6 separate regions of the Homo sapiens genome follow, and regions 1, 2, 3, 4 and 6 are each linked to region 5. Evidence: promoter capture Hi-C in human tissues and cell types (Jung and others, 2019). All regions are on one chromosome and are shown on one strand. The core of a region is centred on a gene start or on the middle of the fragment in contact, and the rest is flanking DNA. Distances in the headings are between cores, read along the strand shown. Region 1 overlaps LOC105372016 (a long non-coding RNA gene). Region 2 has its middle 85 kb from the start of CTAGE1. Region 3 has its middle 250 kb from the start of RBBP8. Region 4 holds the start of LOC124904265 (a long non-coding RNA gene). Region 5 holds the start of GATA6 (GATA binding protein 6). Region 6 has its middle 240 kb from the start of CTAGE1.

Evidence for each region. The method cuts DNA at HindIII sites, captures the fragments that hold promoters and counts their contacts. A contact is called where the count stands out against the background at its distance.
Region 1: a contact is called between a fragment that was not itself captured here and the fragment with the promoter of GATA6 in region 5, in 1 of the 25 tissues and cell types used here (heart left ventricle).
Region 2: a contact is called between a fragment that was not itself captured here and the fragment with the promoter of GATA6 in region 5, in 3 of the 25 tissues and cell types used here (IMR-90 fibroblasts, aorta and small bowel).
Region 3: a contact is called between a fragment that was not itself captured here and the fragment with the promoter of GATA6 in region 5, in 1 of the 25 tissues and cell types used here (lymphoblastoid cells).
Region 4: a fragment that was not itself captured here is called in contact with the fragment with the promoter of GATA6 in region 5 in 2 of the 25 tissues and cell types used here (aorta and mesenchymal stem cells).
Region 6: a contact is called between a fragment that was not itself captured here and the fragment with the promoter of GATA6 in region 5, in 3 of the 25 tissues and cell types used here (H1 embryonic stem cells, heart left ventricle and lymphoblastoid cells).

What each region holds. Positions count from the first base shown.
Region 1 is chr18:21,897,650-21,900,865 of GRCh38, forward strand. The region is part of intron 1 of LOC105372016 (a long non-coding RNA gene); the gene reads left to right. Among named protein-coding and RNA genes, the nearest start is that of MIR133A1HG, 68 kb to the left of the region's middle. The HindIII fragment of the contact is 4,850 bases long and covers 1-3,216 here.
Region 2 is chr18:22,501,606-22,504,413 of GRCh38, forward strand. No RefSeq gene overlaps it. Among named protein-coding and RNA genes, the nearest start is that of CTAGE1, 85 kb to the left of the region's middle. The HindIII fragment of the contact is 8,094 bases long and covers 1-2,808 here.
Region 3 is chr18:22,677,247-22,680,290 of GRCh38, forward strand. No RefSeq gene overlaps it. Among named protein-coding and RNA genes, the nearest start is that of RBBP8, 250 kb to the right of the region's middle. The HindIII fragment of the contact is 3,901 bases long and covers 1-3,044 here.
Region 4 is chr18:22,523,990-22,527,078 of GRCh38, forward strand. It overlaps LOC124904265 (a long non-coding RNA gene), which reads left to right and starts at 2,971. Exons shown (of 3, transcript XR_007066310.1): 1 at 2,971-3,001. The HindIII fragment of the contact is 5,421 bases long and covers 1-3,089 here.
Region 5 is chr18:22,168,299-22,171,094 of GRCh38, forward strand. It overlaps GATA6 (GATA binding protein 6), which reads left to right and starts at 1,291. Exons shown (of 7, transcript NM_005257.6): 1 at 1,291-1,384. It overlaps GATA6-AS1 (GATA6 antisense RNA 1 (head to head)), which reads right to left and starts at 670. Exons shown (of 2, transcript NR_102763.1): 1 at 369-670; 2 at 1-85. RefSeq lists an enhancer at 2,661-2,796. The HindIII fragment of the contact is 12,336 bases long and covers 1-2,796 here.
Region 6 is chr18:22,658,718-22,661,568 of GRCh38, forward strand. No RefSeq gene overlaps it. Among named protein-coding and RNA genes, the nearest start is that of CTAGE1, 240 kb to the left of the region's middle. The HindIII fragment of the contact is 8,147 bases long and covers 1-2,851 here.

The sequences.
Region 1 (3,216 bases), core at 602-3,101, 270 kb before region 5:
CCTGCTTTCCTTCCTTCATTTTGTTTTTGAACACCCAAAGCCCATATTCCTGACATCAAACTCCTCCTGCCTTTGATGAGAACTCTGAAGAGTGTCAGGAAAGAAGTTGATCTGAGAAGTAACTGTAAAGAGTTTCGAGTTGAATGGGAAGAACTCGGGCAGTTAGTAACCTACCTCACCTTTCTGTTCCTTGAATTTTTCGGGTGAAGGACTGCAGGAGAACATGTTCCCCAAACTGGGATGTTTATTGGATGCACCAACCTCTTCTCCCACAAGGGGTCAGTAAAATCCCCTTAGTGAATAGAATGAAGCCCTGCTCCTCCCTGGCTTAGCGTTGGGGCAGTGAGGATCATTGCATTGGTGAATGGACCTCTGACCTTTACACGTTCTCCTCTCCATCACCTGGCTTTACTCAAGCTGAATTCATCCAGCGCTTGCACTCCATCCTCATGCTACCATGTGGTGGGAAACAAAGGGACAGAGAGCTCCAATTCATTCTTTTTTTTTTTCCCTTAGGGTTGGGGTCTTGCTTTTTTGCCCAGGAGGGCATGCAGTGGCATGATTATGGCTCACTGCAGCCTCAAACTCCTGGGCTCAAGCGATTCTCCTGCCACCACCTCCTTTCAAAGTGCTGGGATTACAGGTGTGAACCACCGTGCCCAGCCCTAATTCATTCTTTACTTTTAGTTTAGAGTAGTGTTTCATTTAAAAATTGCTGTACATAAAATATAATCACAAATGATTTCTCAAAATTCTGTATCTTGCAATTATTGTAACTGGATAAGGGTTTAGAACAAGAGAAGACATGTCTAAGTCTAATAATAATATAGTGAATATTTACGAAGTGTTATGAAGCGGCACTTTCTAAGTGTCTTATAAATGATAGAAACTGTGGGTCATGCTTTACGTGGCATTTGAACTCTGGCATTCTGGTCCCAGAGTTCCTGGCCCCTAAGCATCATAACATACTGCCTGTCTACCAGAGAAACAAAAATCAGTGTTTTCCATGGTCCTGGCAAGGATGATTATCAGTTCTATAAGCTAATATGGACATTCAGGAGGTGGATCAAGGTTTTGTGAGGCCCAGAGCGTATATAATTTGGGTGTCATCTTTAGGAAGATAACAGAAAATGACAAATACAAATGTATATGTGAAAATAAATTTTTATTTAGAATGAGAAAATAAATCACAACTGATCACAATTAGAAAAAAGACTACAAATGTCTCCAAATCCAGAAAAAATGCACATTTTTATTACTGAGCCCCCTAACGTATCTAATGCTTCTTTCCCCCATATCTTTAGCTTTATACTCTTTGATTGTCTTTCAATGTGTCTGCAATTTTCTACAATCATTTTTAGTAGAGAAAATAGAAATGTAATTCAGCTGTTCCTATTAGCGTGGTTGCTTGGTAATTATTATTGATGGTTGGGATGCATAACACATAGGATTTCACACATGACTATAACTTGCTGTTTGTAGTGCTTCTGCAGTTTTATCCCATACCTATAGAGAAATTCTGAAAATTGTATTTTGTGTGATCCCCTCCAAAAAGAAAAAAAGCAAAGTTTGTTCATAATTGTATGTGCTGTATTATCAGGTATATTCGTTTTTTTTTTTTTTTTTTTTTTTTTTTTTGAGATGGAGTCTTGCTCTGTCACCCAGGCCGGAGTGCAGTGGCACGATCTCAGCTCACTGCAAGCTCCGCTTCCTGGGTTCACGCCATTCTCCTGCCTCAGCCTCCAGAATAGCTGGGACTACAGGCACCTGCCACCACGCCCGGCTAATTTTTTGTATTTTTAGTAGAGATGGGGTTTCACCATGTTAGCCAGGATGGTCTTGATCTCCTGACCTCATGATCTGCCCGCCTTGTCCTCCCAAAGTGCTGGGATTACAGGCGTGAGCCACCGCACCCGGCTAACATATTCTTCACAGGAGACAAATTCCATTTTGATTAGTTTTTTTCTTTTAATTTATTTTTTAAATAGAGATGAGGTCTCACTAAACTGCCCAGTGTGGTCTTAAACTCCTGGGCTCAAGCCATCCACCTGCCTCGGCCTCCCAAAGTGCTGGGATTACAGGTATGAGTCACCATACTCCGCCATTGACTAGTAGTTGTTAATGGAACCTTTGGCTTACCATTTTCCATGTCTGACAGTTGGAAGAATTTTTCACAGACCACCTTCTGGCTTGATTCATTTCAAACCTTTTTCCTCCACAATCTATGTACTTCTCATGCCAGATGCCATAGGACACAGTGTATAGGGATAGCCCTGGTTCTTCCCGTCATAACACTAGGCAGGGAGTGAGATGAGGGTGCTCCTAAGATAGCTTAGTAATAAGTAATAAGTGAAGAATTCACAGAAGTAATTGTAAGCCACATAAATGTATCCAACAAAACCCCAAATAAATGTACCCTCAATGCATTCTCATCTGCCTCAATGTACCTTCAGATATGCCCATGGCTGGTCCATCCCACCTGGCACAGGGAAAGAGTGGAGAAAGGAAAGTGAGAGTAGAAACAGAAAATAGTCATAACTGATAGCAGTTAAATATATTATTTTTGGCTGGGTGTGGTGGCTCACACCTGTATTCCCAGCACTTTGGGAATACAGCCGAGTCAGGAGGATCCCTTGAGCCCAGGAGTTTGAGACCAGCCTGGGCAATACAGTGAGACCCCATCTCTCTCTCTATATATAAAATAATTAGCCAGGCATTGTGGTGTGTGCCTATAGTTCCAGCTACTTGGGAGGATGAGGCAGGAGGACTGCTCAAGCCCAGGAGGTTGAGGCTGCAGTGAGCTGAGATTGTGCCACTGCACTCCAGTGTGGTTGACAGAGTAAGACCCTGTCTCAAAAAAGAAAAGAAAAAGAAAAAACAATGTAATCATGCAAATGTGAAAACACTGCTGGACCCTTCCCAAGCCTTGGAGGGCCTGTGCAAATGAGGGTCCTGCAGCCTAAGCTGCATTAACTTTAGGGCCAGTCCCTGTATGGAACATCCTTAGAGACCTAACTCACCCACCAGCCTGAGGCAGCTCCAGGGGAGTGCCAGCAGACAGCAGAGCAATGATCTCACACCCATGGCAAACAAGGACGCGTTGTCCACCCACTAATAGGACCTCACCACCTGCAGGCGGGCAGATCCCAAGGTTTCCTGATATTCCCTACTGCTGCAGTCTCTGCTTGGGACAAAGTGCATTGCTTTTGCCATGAG
Region 2 (2,808 bases), core at 231-2,730, 330 kb after region 5:
AGTTAAACATATACTTACCATGGGACTTAACAATCTAATCAAATGTACTTACCCAAGAGAAAGAAAAATATCTGTTTATACAAAGACTTGCACATGAGTATTCATAGCAACTAACTCATAATAGCTATAAATTGGAAACGACCCCCAAAACCAATAAGAGATGAATGGATAAACAAATTGTGCTATATCCATACAATGGAATACTACTTAGCAATGAAAAGAAACAAATTGTTGATAGATGGCACACTATGGATGAATCTAAAAAAATATACCAAGTGAAGAAGCTAGACAAAAACTACATAGCGTATGATTCCATCTAGAAAGGCTAAACTAACTCATAGTGACAGAAAAGGAGGCCTGGTGTGGGTGTCAGGAAGATGGGTTGGCAAAGGCCTCAGATCAACTACTGCCCACAGTCAGAGGTGAAAGAGTTGACTGTAAGGTGAAACAGGAAGACTTTCAGGGGTGATCTAAATGTTATATATCTAGATTGTGGTGGTGACATGGGTACATAAATTTGTCAAAACTTATTGAATTGCATACTTAAAATGAATGCATCTGATTGTATTACATCATTGTATGTAAATGATCCTGGACCCCTATCTCACACCAAACACAAAAATTAATTTGAAATAGATCATAGATCTAGATGTAAATTCAACCTATCAAACTTCTGGGAAAAAAAATAAACCAAGAGAATAATCTTTATGAGTTTTGTCAGCAGATTTTTTGGGGACATAAAAATCACTAAAAAGAGGGGGGGATCAATTAATTTAAGTCTCCCCAAAAAATCTTTCTCTTCTTAAATCAGTAGTTATAATCCTAGCAGCACATTTAAGTCATCTGGAGCATGTACAAATAAAAGCACAATACCCATCCCAGACTAACTGAATCACAATATCTTCTTGAGAAACATTGACTTAAAGTTTGGACTCCATTGATTTTCAAAGCAACAAATGTGCCTCACAGAGAGGTTATGTAGCCTTACATCTCTAACATATGAAATATTTTTTGTTTGCATATGAATACATAAATGGAGAAAGTAAGTTATATACACGTATTAATTTATTCAATTTGATTATTATGTATCAGGGACTATGTTGGATGCTTAGTTACAAAAAGACTGAGACACAATCCTTGGCCACAATTATAGGAAGAGTCAGAGTTCTAGGTGGGATAAAAGTTGTGCAAATATATGACGTGCATACACAAAGAGATAGATTTCATCTTGTGTGGGTGTCAGGAAGAGGAGTTGGCAAAGGCCTTAGAGAAGAAGAAGGGATTTCCATTAAGCCAAGTCTCAAAAGATGATTATGATGTGATCTGGTTGTCCTGGACAACTTGACTAACCACACCTCCGCAACCCCGCAGGCAACACACACACATTTTTGTGCACATACCGGCAACATATATATTTTTCAAAATCCTAAGTATCCATGCCTGCCTTATAGTTAACGTTTCGAAGATTCTTTCTCTACCCATTGTCCTGGATTAATATCAAAAGAGAACGAAGAAAGAAGCTTAAGGGAGAAAATCCACTGCATCTTCAGATTGTTTCCTTCTTTCTGATCTCAGGAGGTCCAGGGAGGTAGGAAGAACCTTTTCACCTGTTTCCTCATATTGTTCCTCTATTGTCCTCTCCAGCTGGTAAGCCCCAACATCGTGTATCTTAAAAAGCTAATGAGGCCAGGACAGAATTGCCATTTAAATTCTTTAGTAACATTTCCTCTTACAGTCTGAGCTCTTATCCTCTGACTTGTTTCCTTAAGTTTCTATCAAGCTCCTCAGTCAGGTTAGTTGGAATATTCCCATGCTTCTTCCTTTTTCTGTTAGAGAATAAGGTCTATTATATAACTCCTTCATCTCCTTAGAAATACAGATAGCCTATCAGCAGTTTTGGAAAAACATCCCAACTGATTTTAGGGCATTGAGGCGTTTGATGGGAGGAAGCTATCTATACAAAGAGTGAATGCTGTACAAACAGCAAACTTTACAGGGAAAAAGTTGATATTTATAGATACTCATTTATACCCCAGGGCAAGACAGACAGATAGATAGATAGATAGATAGATAGATAGATAGATAGATAGATAGCAATATATTGATATCTGTTTATCCATTGAGTCAAACAAATAAACACACATAGATTACAAAGGTCCTTTTCTCTTCCCATGCCTGAAGAGAAAGGAGGCCTGTGGTTTCTTTCCATAGATATGCATCACTCCTGAAAAGCACACTCACATCTTGTTTATATATTACAGCCTTCCGCTACTTCACCAAATGTCTCCTGGCCTTTGCTCAGTGAGCCAGTTGAGCTCCCAGAAAAATCCTTCATTCTTTCCCAACTGTGCCTCCCAAGACAGATGTTTTATATCAAGGACACCAAGTCCTGCCCTGAGGACTTAGCCAGCAAAAACTCACTAGAGGCCCTTGCCTTCAGGAGATGATGTAACCTTGGAGAGATGTGTGCTACAATCTCCCTGCAAAGGCGGAAGACAGCGTGAACTCACAGGGGACCCAGGCCAGGGTATTGGGTGGGCCATCCCTCTCTGTTGTGATGAGTGGCTATAGTGTGTAAGTCAGCCTGGGAAAATGTCTGCTCAGTCCCAGGAGTGGATTCCACAGCTCTTTGGTTGACAGTTCAGTTCCCACCATCTTCTGCTTGCAAGTCTTCTTAGGGCAATGCTGCAGGGTAGGTCCTTGTCCTGTTTTATTCAAGAGCACTCCTGGTATGGCCCCACCATCTGTGCAGAGAGCAAGGCTTCACATGTCTCCAGGGTCTTATGGTAAGTTGGATATGACAAGTGA
Region 3 (3,044 bases), core at 67-2,566, 510 kb after region 5:
TCATTAATTACCCAAAACAGAAGAAACTCATGATTGTTTAATCTCTGTTCACAAACTCTCTATGCCCTGAGTGGATTTATTAGAAAATGCTTTAGGAAATCCAGACTTAATCCTAGTTGCTGATGGATCACATCTTAATAGTGATACTGCAAAATAGAAGGTAAGAATATCACCCCTTACCAAAAGCAAAATCTGTCCAGATTGAAGAACTTACTGCATGTGCCAGAGCCTATCAGTTAACTAGAAATGAAAGGATAATTTCCACTGATAATAGAGATATACATTTTGGAAGGTAGTCATATTTGGTGATGTTTTGTAAACAAGGGTTCTTGACCCCAACAGGAACTCCAGTTCAGATTGGTCAGCAGAATTAAAGAATTTTTGCATGTTCTAATGTTTCTTAAGGAGATATAAAGACAGGAGCTCAAACAAATGGGTATACTACAGCTCTTTGTTCCAGACAGTCAGCACTCACTTAGATCCTAGCCCTAATGATAATCCAATAGATTCTATTGCTAGAGAAATTCAAAGAGGCTTTTATAGAATGTCAGTGATCGGCTCCAGGTTCAGAAAAGTCGTACTAGGAGAAATCCAGATGTAAACTGCACGAGGATAATCTCCGAGGCTTTAAGGATGGCTGTTTAGTCCCGAAGAACTTCAAATGGAATCTTGCAAAAATTTTACATGAAAATACCCACCACTGCAAAGACAAATTAGCAAGGACAAACTGGCCACTAAACTTCTTGGTGAGAAAACTTCACTAAAACTTCTGAGGGTATTTCTGGTGCATATATTACCTGCCACTAGACTGATTCTGACAAAACTGTTCAGGTCAGACATGGACAAGAGCCCAGTGCTTAGAATCCCTTTGAATAGCTCCAAAAGGGTTTCATATATCTGCTCTTGCAGTGGATTTGTAATGTGTCCTACTTATTATTTGCTTATTCTTGGGATGAGTTGAGCCCTTTCCTTGCTGGAGAAACATGGCTCTAATAATTGCAAATTTAAAAACTTACTTGATATTGTATTACCAACTTAGGGAATTCCAAACTATTGCTCTAGTAACAAGACCATTCATCTTCCTTGGTATATTGGACAGACTCCAATTTGGCCACCCAGGATCCACATTTGTTGGTCTTTATGCCTCTGTGTGATCCTTGACTGCAGTCAGGACCTGTGACTTGCTTCTAACTAACACAGTATGCCAAAGGTGATGGGCTATTGCTCCCGTGCTTATGTTAGTTTTATAAATTACTTGTCTTGCTAGAAGACACTCTGAAGACTCTTTCCTGGCTTCATGAAGCACTCATTTCAGGAAAGCCCCTGAGGTAAGGAACTGAGGCTGCATCTAGGATCTGCAGGCAACTAATAGCAGCCAAGGGTGGCCTCCAGCCAACAGCTAGCAAGAAGCTGGAGCCTTCAGTCTTACAACCACAAGGAAATGAATTCTTCCAATAAATGGTGTGAGCTAAGAAACAGGTTCTCCCTTAATAGAGCCCTTACATGAGAATGCAACTGGGACAACACCTTCATTTCAGCCTTAAGAAACCCTGAGCATAGGACAACGCAAGCCATGCTTAGGCTACTGACCCATGGAAACAGCAAGAATAAATGCAGGTGCTTTTAAGTCACTAGGTTTCTGGTGACTTGTGCAGCAAGAAAACTTATACACTGTGACTATTATTTAAAAGCTTTGCAGAGTATTCTCACTTACTCAGAAACTCTACTATCAATATCAGCCCCAATCATCAAGAAAGGAAGAAAGGGCAGATCGAATTTTAAAACACAAATTAGCAAATTTTTCATAGATTCTCAATCTTTCATCACCTAAGATATTGCCATTGGCTTTAATGACAGTGAGATCAATTCCTCCTGGGGGTTATCAACTCTCCCCTTATGAATCAGTAACTGGTCAGCCCATGCATCTAGGATTATCATCTCTGATTCTAGATTCCATGCTATCACAAACCGACAAGCCAAATATCCCAGGGAACTCATGCAGTACCCCCAGTATTATGATTAATAGGTATGAGCAGCCTTTCCTCAACATCATCCTAAATAGCACTTCTATGACCTGAAGCCTGGAGCTTTTGTAAATGAACTTTCAAATAAATAGAACTTGGAAGAGAACTAGGAAAGAGATGCAATATTCTTGGAGGCTGAACCACTTTCACTGATGACGCAGGTAAGACACGCTACTTCACTTTTGCTTTAGAGCTACCAACTCTCTCAGTATTCCAAATTTCATTGCCTGGCACTGTATCATTCTTGATGAGTAGTGCTAAAATGCTACAATGCAATTTTTCAATCCTATGGTGCTGTTTAGGCCAAAGATAGTTCATAAGTGATTCCCAATGACTGGTATAGAATTTTCAGCATAAAAGCCTCAGACTGCTACCTACGAATTGGACAGGGTTTTGGTACCTTGGTAAATAGATGCATGTTTTGAAGATAGTGAGATTACCTAGGATCCATTTTTGCCCATCAATTTACCCTCTAGGAATGGTCGTTAGGTCACAGATTTTAGGAAGAAAACTCAGCCATGATTTCAGAACCAAAGCCCTAACTCTTAAGGGGGAATTTTGAATTTTCTTCTTTCCTCATGCTCCTTCACTTTATATTTTTCTGAAAGGCTCAAAAAACAGGGAGAATCCTGGATGCCATGGTTCAGAGAATGCAAAAGAGTTATACAATGCCACCATGGCCATGGGACTCCTTGCCTAGAAGGATCATAAAATTGGACAGATGGTAAATCAGAATAGAGCCACTTTAGACACAATATTGACTTTCTGAAAGGACACAGTACTATTTAGGGGAAGAATGTTGTGCTTACATCCTTCCAGACCTCTCATAATTTTTAATATTATCTAAAATGACTAGAGAGCAAATAAAGAAGCATAAATTTAGACCATCTGGCTAATTCCCCATTCCTGGTTCTGTGTGCTCTTCGGACTGGGGATAGAATCCATTCTCTTGGTTTAACTTGGCCACACTAGGCTCCTAGCTGAGAAAAGGATGATGAATTCTAATCTGCATTACAGCGT
Region 4 (3,089 bases), core at 119-2,618, 360 kb after region 5:
GTTGGTAAATTTACCAAAGGATAATGTGAGGGGAGAGAAGGCAAGAAGATCAAGAGCAAAATTTAGGGTCGCATCCATAGTCAGAGGTAGGAAAGAAGAGGAACTGCCAAGGAGATTGAAGCATCACACTGAGAGGAAGGGGGAGAACCAGGATAGGGTCTTCCCAACAGGGTCACCTACCACAAGATACCAAGGAAGATGAAAAATGGGCGGAGGAAATTGGATTTGGCAAGTAAGGTATGACTCCTGATCTTTAAGATAACACAGTAATAAGCATGACTAAGGAAAACCACCCCACAGATCTGGACCACACTGAGAGATGAGGTAAGATGAACTTCTGCCTGTAATCTCAGCTCCTAAGGAGGCTGAGGCAGGAGGATAGCTTGAGGCCAGGAGTTCGAAACCAGCTTAGGCAATATAGCAAGAGTCCTATCCAAAAAAAAAAAAAAATAGACGAACCTCCCAGGGCCTCTAGTTCTCAGGTGTAGTGCTCTAGGTAATATGCAAGCTTGAGAAGCCCAGGTGAAATGCTACCAAACTGAAGCTCCTTAGAGGAGCCAAACCACCTGTTCACTATCTGGACTGATTTTATACCGTTAGAGTTCACCAGACCGAGGAGGAGTTAGACCATGTCTATCTCACAATCCATGTCTTAGCTCTAAGGGAAAAGAAGAGAGCCCACAGTGATGGTGCCTGATTTAGGAAAAGTTTCAGTGTGTCTTCCTTAGGGTCCCTTTGTCCAAGCTTTTCTTCAGAAGCAGGGAAAACAGAAAAATATTTAGGAACAAATGGAGATGCCAGAGAGGAAGAAGTGGGGATTAAGGAAGAATAAGGGTAGAGGCGGGAAGGCCGTGAATGCCTGGATGACCTTCCCCCCACCAGAGGTGAAGGGGTGGTGCCGTTGTAAGGTACAAAGGTCCCCTGGAGGGAACCAGTGCTTTCCTCCCTAAATTGTTCATACCCAATAATAAACACATACCAGATAGCACACACATGGAATGCTGGGGGCTGTTGGAAGCAGACCCAGGCTGTCGGGAATCCCCTGAACCAAGGCATGAAAAACATTCTCTTCCTTCGCACGTGTAACACTCTCCCAGTATAACTGTTTCTCTTAAAGCCATAGGTGTCTGTTTTTGAGTTTGCTCCTTGGAGACAGAAACAGGATTACAATATATGGTGTTTTTTCCTCATTTCCTGCTATAGGCTGTTTTAAGTTTCTGTGACAGCTTTTCTACATATTTCTTCCTTCAAATGGTGAATCTATGTATGGCCATGTTAATGACTGGGACATAGACTTAAAATGGGAATGCTTAGGAAATGGAATGTTCTTTAACCAGTATTGTTTCATCTGCTATTATTGGGGAAAAAGAAATCTCTCTACAGATTTCAAACCCACTTTGCTGGTGCAATGGAATGATCAAATAGACTCTCTCTTTGAAGATCTGGCATCTTGTCCAGCCTCAGAGTCATTATTTAGATTATCATTTGGGTCATCGGTGACCTCAGTGCTGTGGACCCTGGGAGAAGGACTGAGGATTAGAGCCAGAAGACGTGGGTTTCAGGATTGGCTCTACTTAGTAGCTGGGAGATTCTAGGCAAATTGCTTTTTAAAAAAAATTCAAAATTCTCTAAATCTGTTTCCTCCTCTGAAGAGTGAGAATAAGACGCAAACCTACCTACTTCTCAGGATTATGTGAAGATTACAAAAATCCTCTGTGAAAGCATTTCCATCAACCTCAAACTCTCCACAACTCTAAGAGCTGGAGGCACCTGAAACCAGGCTGAATCTGTACAAATGGGACAGGTGGGTTCTAAAAGTTCATTTATAAAAGAAACCTCCCAAGTGAGTCTAACTTGTTCTTTATCTCTTTGTCCTGTAAGGGGCCACTGGAAAAAAATGAGTCAAAGTTTTCCATTCAAGTGAATTTTCAGATAGTTGTCTGCATCCTCACAGAACAGACAAAGAAATCAAGACTTTACAAGTTGTTTATTTGTTTTAAAGTGACTTTTCCCAAATCTTGCAGCTAGCAACTGTCAGTGTCGGGATTCGCATCTGAACTTAAGACCTGCAGGGAGAGGCTGCTGGAATTTCTGCTTTTCATAAAGCCCTGAAGAGCGTGAACAAAAAGACAATGGGGGAACATGAGTCAAGCCCTGTAGCAGGACCTAGACTCTGAGGTGAGGGCCACCCCTGAAGCTCCAGGCTTCAGGGGCAGCACTCAGGAGAGGCACTTCTTCTGATGGGAGAAAACTGAATGGGACATTTGCAGTAAGGGGTGCTGGTGGGTACTACATGTGGGGCCACACTCGAGCTGCCTTCTCAGTCAACCCCTTTGGCAGCTTGGGCCAAGTCTCTCTGAAGAGGAAGACTGTGATATCTGAACTCGTGAGTTCACAGAGTGCTCACCTGGAGACTTTGTGAGAAACAGACTGGGAAGATCTCTGTAAAAGAATCAGGCCAGGCACGGTGGCTCACGCCTGTAATCTCAGCATTTTGGGACGCCGAGGTGGGCGGATCACGTGAGGTCAGGAGTTCGAGACTAGTCTGGCCAATATGGCGAAATCCCATTTCTACTAAAAAATACAAAAATTAGCCAGGCATGGCTGCTCATGCCTGTAATCCCAGCCACTCGGGAGGCTAAGGAAGGAGAACCACTTGAACCCTGGAGACAGAGGTTGCAGTGAGCCGAGATCTTGCCACTGCACTCCAGCCTGGGCGACAGAGCGAGACTCCATCTTAAAAAATAAAAATTAAAAAAAGAATCGATTGCTGGTAGGAGAGGGTTCCTTCTTGCACTCAGCACAGTGGCTGACCAAGACAAGTAATCCAGACCATGTTGGTGACCAGGTGAGCACTGGGGATGCCGGGAGGGGTGACATCACGAGGACAGTCTATGGGAAGACACTGCCTGAGCACGCTGGTCCCCCATTGACATGTGGCCTTCGAGACAATTACTGCACACCACGCCCTTGCAGTTGAAGCAGGAAAGAGTAACACAAGGTATTTTGATTGCACATGGAATATTTTCTCGCTTCTTCATCTCATTCTTTTTCTAAGAGCAATGCCTAGGTTTCATTCAAAGGTTCAG
Region 5 (2,796 bases), core at 41-2,540:
ATTCATTCTCACAAAAACAACGCCTCTTGTCCTAAAGTCTCCCTCGGCAGCCTTCTGGGGTCACGTCTGTCGGAAGAAATCCTTTCTGTAAGCGAAAGGGAGCGAGACATATATCACGGCTCCTGCAGCGGACGAGCCTGCGGCCGCGCGAGTTGCCGCTGACAGATCGGCGCTGATAACCCCGCGACGTTCATTTCCAGTCCCTTTTGCCCGCTAGGGACCGTATCAGTTTGTACAGAGTTGTGATAACTGTTTGGAGGGAGCGAAGAGGGGGTGTGTATATGAACGTGGGGGTGGGGAAGCAGCATTTAGCGCTGGGTCCAGGGAAGGTGACACCCCCTCTTCGCAGTGACTTATCTGTGACTTACCTGAAACTCTCCAGGGAAATATCAGAAACTCTCCAGGGACATCAAAAGTTGGAGAGCGTCCTCGGACACGACTGATGTGGAAGCCCTTTTCCATTCTGCGTACCCCATAGACTACCTTTCCGTACATGACGACCCGAGTTAAAGTTCCCAAAGGTCAGCTGGGGAATGTTGTCTTGAGGTTCCCGAAACCACCACGACCTGAGCCGTAGCATCCCGAGATAGGGTCGGAGAAAGTTTAAGGTCGGTCTCACACAACTTCAGGGCAAAAAGCGCATTTGCTGTGAAGGGGCTAGGCGGGGGTTGGGGGGCGGGGGGGCGCAGAGCACGTTCCCCCTTCCTTCTGGGGGCGTGCTGACCCAAGGTCTGGAGCGCCCCTCCCGCCGCGGCGGCGGCGCGGGACTGTGCACTGCCAACTCCTCCCGTGCCAAGGCTCCCTCCCCCTCCCTCGTGTGGGTGTGTGTGTGCGACTGCGGGAGCGGGAGGGTGCACCGCCGCTGGATGGGTGCGGGTCGCTAGCCAGGTCAGGCGTTCTGTGGCCTCCGCCCCTCCCCCGGGGTCCCTGGGCTCGGTGCCCCCCGGGTGGACTCGCCCCCACTCCGGGGACAGGGCTTGCGGCTCAGCCCACGCCCGCAGGCAGCGCGGCTCTCATTGTCTGCCTGGGCGGCGCGCTCCCCTCCCCCCTCGCCGTCCCCTCCCCACCCTCTTTTCTCTCCTCCCCTCGATCCCTCCTCCTCCTCTTCACCTCCAGCGCCCAGCTGCTCGCTGAGCGCAGTTCCGACCCACAGCCTGGCACCCTTCGGCGAGCGCTGTTTGTTTAGGGCTCGGTGAGTCCAATCAGGAGCCCAGGCTGCAGTTTTCCGGCAGAGCAGTAAGAGGCGCCTCCTCTCTCCTTTTTATTCACCAGCAGCGCGGCGCAGACCCCGGACTCGCGCTCGCCCGCTGGCGCCCTCGGCTTCTCTCCGCGCCTGGGAGCACCCTCCGCCGCGGCCGTTCTCCATGCGCAGCGCCCGCCCGAGGTTCGGCTGCTTCCTCCTCGCGCGATCTCCCCGCTTTCCTCCCCTCCACCCCTACTCGTCGCGGGCCCCTGGCCTCCGGCTCTCCGGCCCTCTCCAGGCCGCGGTCGGCTCCGACGGTGTTTCCCTCCTTCCCTCCGGGCGGGCTGAGGCGGCTCCCAGGCTCCCGGGACACCGCGGACCAACTTCTAGTCTCTTTTTCTCTCCTCGAAGCGCTTATCTGCGCGCAGCCTTATCTCCGAGTTATCTCGGCGCAAAGGGGCGGGAGCCGGTAGTTAGGCAGGCAGAGAAACTTCTTTCTTGCTATCTAGCCAGGTCTGTGTGTGGGCATTAATTTTAGTGTGGTAATCTCCGATGAGCCGAGGCGATTTGGAAGAGCAGCCTGGAGGAGGCCAGCCCGGCTGCATTTCACCTCCCTCCCCCACTCGCTCCGAGTCTCCCTGTCATTCTTCCTGCTCTCCCATTTGGGGTCGCCTCGGCTCTGGGGCGGTCTCACGCTCCCCCCTCCCCAGCCCGTTGCGTTCCCCCTCCTTTTCTCTGCTCTCCGCTCCACCCCGCTACGTCCGATTCCGGAACGGTCCGGCGTTTCTGCTGCTGGAGATGACCGCGGGGTGGGCCGGGTGGCCCGGCCGGCGTGAGCGCGCACGCTGGTGGCTGCAGGCGCGGGCCGTGTCTAAGGTGTGCGGCGCCGCGGGGACGCCGGTGGGGCTGGCGATTCCCGCCCCACAAGCTCTCCGCATTGCCTCTGCTGGGAAGGACCCAGACTGCTGCCCCCGCCCTGGCGTCCCACTTTCCCTGGGCCGAGTTGCATTTCTCTCTGGGGCTCGCGTTCGGGCTGGTCAGCGCAGTCCGGGAAGCTCTGGGAGAGCCAATATAGGAGAACGCGGCGGTTTCGTTTTCGGGGACAGGTTGCCTTCCTTACGCGAAGGGTTTTCCCGTGGGGAACCCTCACCCCGAGGCATTTCGGGAGAGGGGCATCCGCAGAGAGGCGGGATGCGGCGGTGCCGACACGCACAGCTACTTAAATTCTTTTGTGTGTCATCAGCCCGGGGGAGACACTTTAGGGCGGAAGGAAAGCCTCAGCCAGCTTCTGCAGATCACCCCTGGGATCTGGCGCGCGCACGGAGAAAGGATGCGGCCGAGGGGGTGGGCGGGGAGGACGCGGGGACCGGAGCGGTGCCTTTGAGGGAGGGCTGGTATCCCAGCCCTTCCAGGGCCCTGTGGCGGCTGCGCAGGCTCCCTTCCCCTCCCTTATTGATCTCCACGCCCGGGGCAGAAATAGGATCTTTGAGAAGTCTCAAATGGGATCTTTGAGAAGTCAGATCCCATTTGAACTAGAAAAAGGAGTGGAGGCGAGGTAGCGTGCAGCCTACGCTCTTGTTAACCCGTCGATCTCCTACCATACCCGTCTCCCC
Region 6 (2,851 bases), core at 122-2,621, 490 kb after region 5:
TCTAATAGGTAAAGATGCCCACAGACTCAAAGTAAAGGTGGTTTCAGTTTGTGATCACACAAACTGAAAACAAAAACAAGCAGGAGTTTTGACATAAGTATCAGATACTTATATCAGATAAAATAGACTTTAAATCAACAACGGTGGAAAAAAACAAAGAAGGTCATTATATGATGATAAAGGGTTCAATTCAGCAAAACCATTTAACTACCCTAAATGTATATGCACCCAATATCGGAGCAGCCAGATTCATAAAACAAATACTATTAGACCTAAGAAAATAGATAGATAGCAACACAATAATAGTAAGGGACTTCAACACCCCATCAACAGTATGAGACAGATCATAAAGGCAGAAATTCAACAAAGAAACTCTGGGAGTTTCTTCCAGTAGGAGATAGCTTAAAAAGTAAAAATTTAGAAAAAAGAAACAGGGTATAAACTGGACTCTGGAGCAAATAGGCCTCATAGACATTTACTGAACACTCTACCCAACAAATGTAGAATATGCATTTTTCTTATTCACACATGAAACATTCTCCAAATAAACCATGTGCTTGGCCATAAAGCAAGTCTCAATACATTCAAAAAAATTAAAATTATATCAAATATCTTCTCAGACCACAGTGAAATAAAATTAAAAATCAACACCAAGGGGAAATCTCAAAATTATGTAAATACATGGAAACTAAATAACTTGCTCCTGAACAATCTTTGAGTAAATAATAAAATTAAGAGAGAAATCAATAAATTTTTTGAACTGGATAAAAATAGGGACACAACATATCAAAACATTTGGGATACAACAAAAGTAGTGCTCAGAGGAAAGCTTATAGTGTTAAATGCCTACAAAAAGATAGAAAGATCACAAATTAACAACCTAATATCCCACTTCATAGAGCTAGAAAAACAAGAACAAACCAAACTCAAAGCTAGCAGAAAAAAATAAATAACAAAGATCAGAGCAGAACTAAATGAGATTGAGACCAAATAGATATAAAAGATCAATGAAACAAAAATATTTTTCTTCAAAAGGATAAGCTAAATTGATAGATTGCTACCTAGGAGTCACCAAGAAAAAAAGAGAAATGATCCAAAAAACACAATCAGAAATGATAAAGGTGATACTAGAATATAATCACAGAAATAATAAAGATCATCAGAGAGTACTATGAGCACCTCTGTGCACAAACTAGAAAACCTAGAGGAAATGGATAAATTCCTGGAAACATGCAACTCCCAAAATTGATCCAGGAATAAATAGAAATTGTGAACAAACCAATAATAAGTCATAAAATTAAATCAGTAATTTAAAATACACTCCCAAAAAAGTCCAAGACCAGACAAATTCACAGCTGAATTTTACCAGGTGTACAAACTAATATCAATCTTACAGAAACTATTTCAAAAAATGAAGGAGGAGGGATTCTTTCCCATCTCGTTCTATAAAACTGGTATCACCCTGACACCAAAATCAAGCAAGGACACACAAAAAAGAAAATTACAGGCCAATATTCCTGATGAACACACACAAAAGTCCTCAACAAAATACTAGCAAACTACAACCCTTCATGCTAAAAACTCTCAATAAATTAGGTATTAATGGGACGTATCTCAAAATAATAAGAGCTATCTATGACAAACCCACAGCCAACATCATACTGAATGGGAAAAAACTGGAAGCATTCCCTTTGAAAACTGGCAACAAGACAGGGATGCTCTCTCTCACCACTCCTATTCAACATAGCGTTGGAAGTTCTGGCCAGGGCAATTAGGCAGGAGAAGGAAATAAAGGGTATTCAATTAGGAAAAGAGGAAGTCAAATTGTCCCTGTTTGCAGATGACATGATTGTATATTTAGAAAACCGCATTGTCTCAGCCCAAAATCTCCTTAAGCTGATAAACAACTTCAGCAAAGTCTCAGGATACAAAATCAATGTGCAAAAATCACAAGCATTCCTATACACCAATAACAGACAGAGAGCCAAATCATGAGTGAACTCCCATTCACAATTGCTTCAAAGAGAATAAAATACCTAGGAATCCAACTTACAAGGGACGTGAAGGACCTCTTCAAGGAGAACTACAAACCACTGCTCAATGAAATAAAAGAGGATACAAACAAATGGAAGAACATTCCATGCTCATGGGTAGGAAGAATCAATATCGTGAAAACGGCCATACTGCCCAAGGTAATTTATAGATTCAATGCCATCCCCATCAAGCTACCGATGATTTTCTTCACAGAATTGGAGAAAACTACTTTAAAATTCATATGGAACTAAAAAAGAGCCCGCATCGCCAAGTCAATCTTAAGCCAAAAGAACAAAGCTGGAGGCATCATGCTACCTGACTTCAAACTATACTACAAGGCTACAGTAACCAAAACAGCATGGTACTGGTACCAAAACAGAGATATAGATCAATGGAACAGAACAGAGCCCTCAGAAATAACGCCGCATATCTACAACTATCTGATCTTTGACAAACCTGAGGAAAACAAGCAATGGGGAAAGGATTTCCTATTTAATAAATGGTGCTGGGAAAACTGGCTAGCCATGTGTAGAAAGCTGAAACTGGATCCCTTCCTTACACCTTATACAAAAATTAATTCAAGATGGATTAAAGACTTAAACGTTAGACCTAAAACCATAAAAACCCTAGAAGAAAACCTAGGCATTACCATTCAGGACATAGGTATGGGCAAGGACTTCATGTCTAAAACACCAAAAGCAATGGCAACAAAAGCCAAAATTGACAAATGGGATCTAATTAAACTCAAGAGCTTCTGCACAGCAAAAGAAACTACCATCAGAGAGAACAGGCAACCTACAACATGGGAGAAAATTTT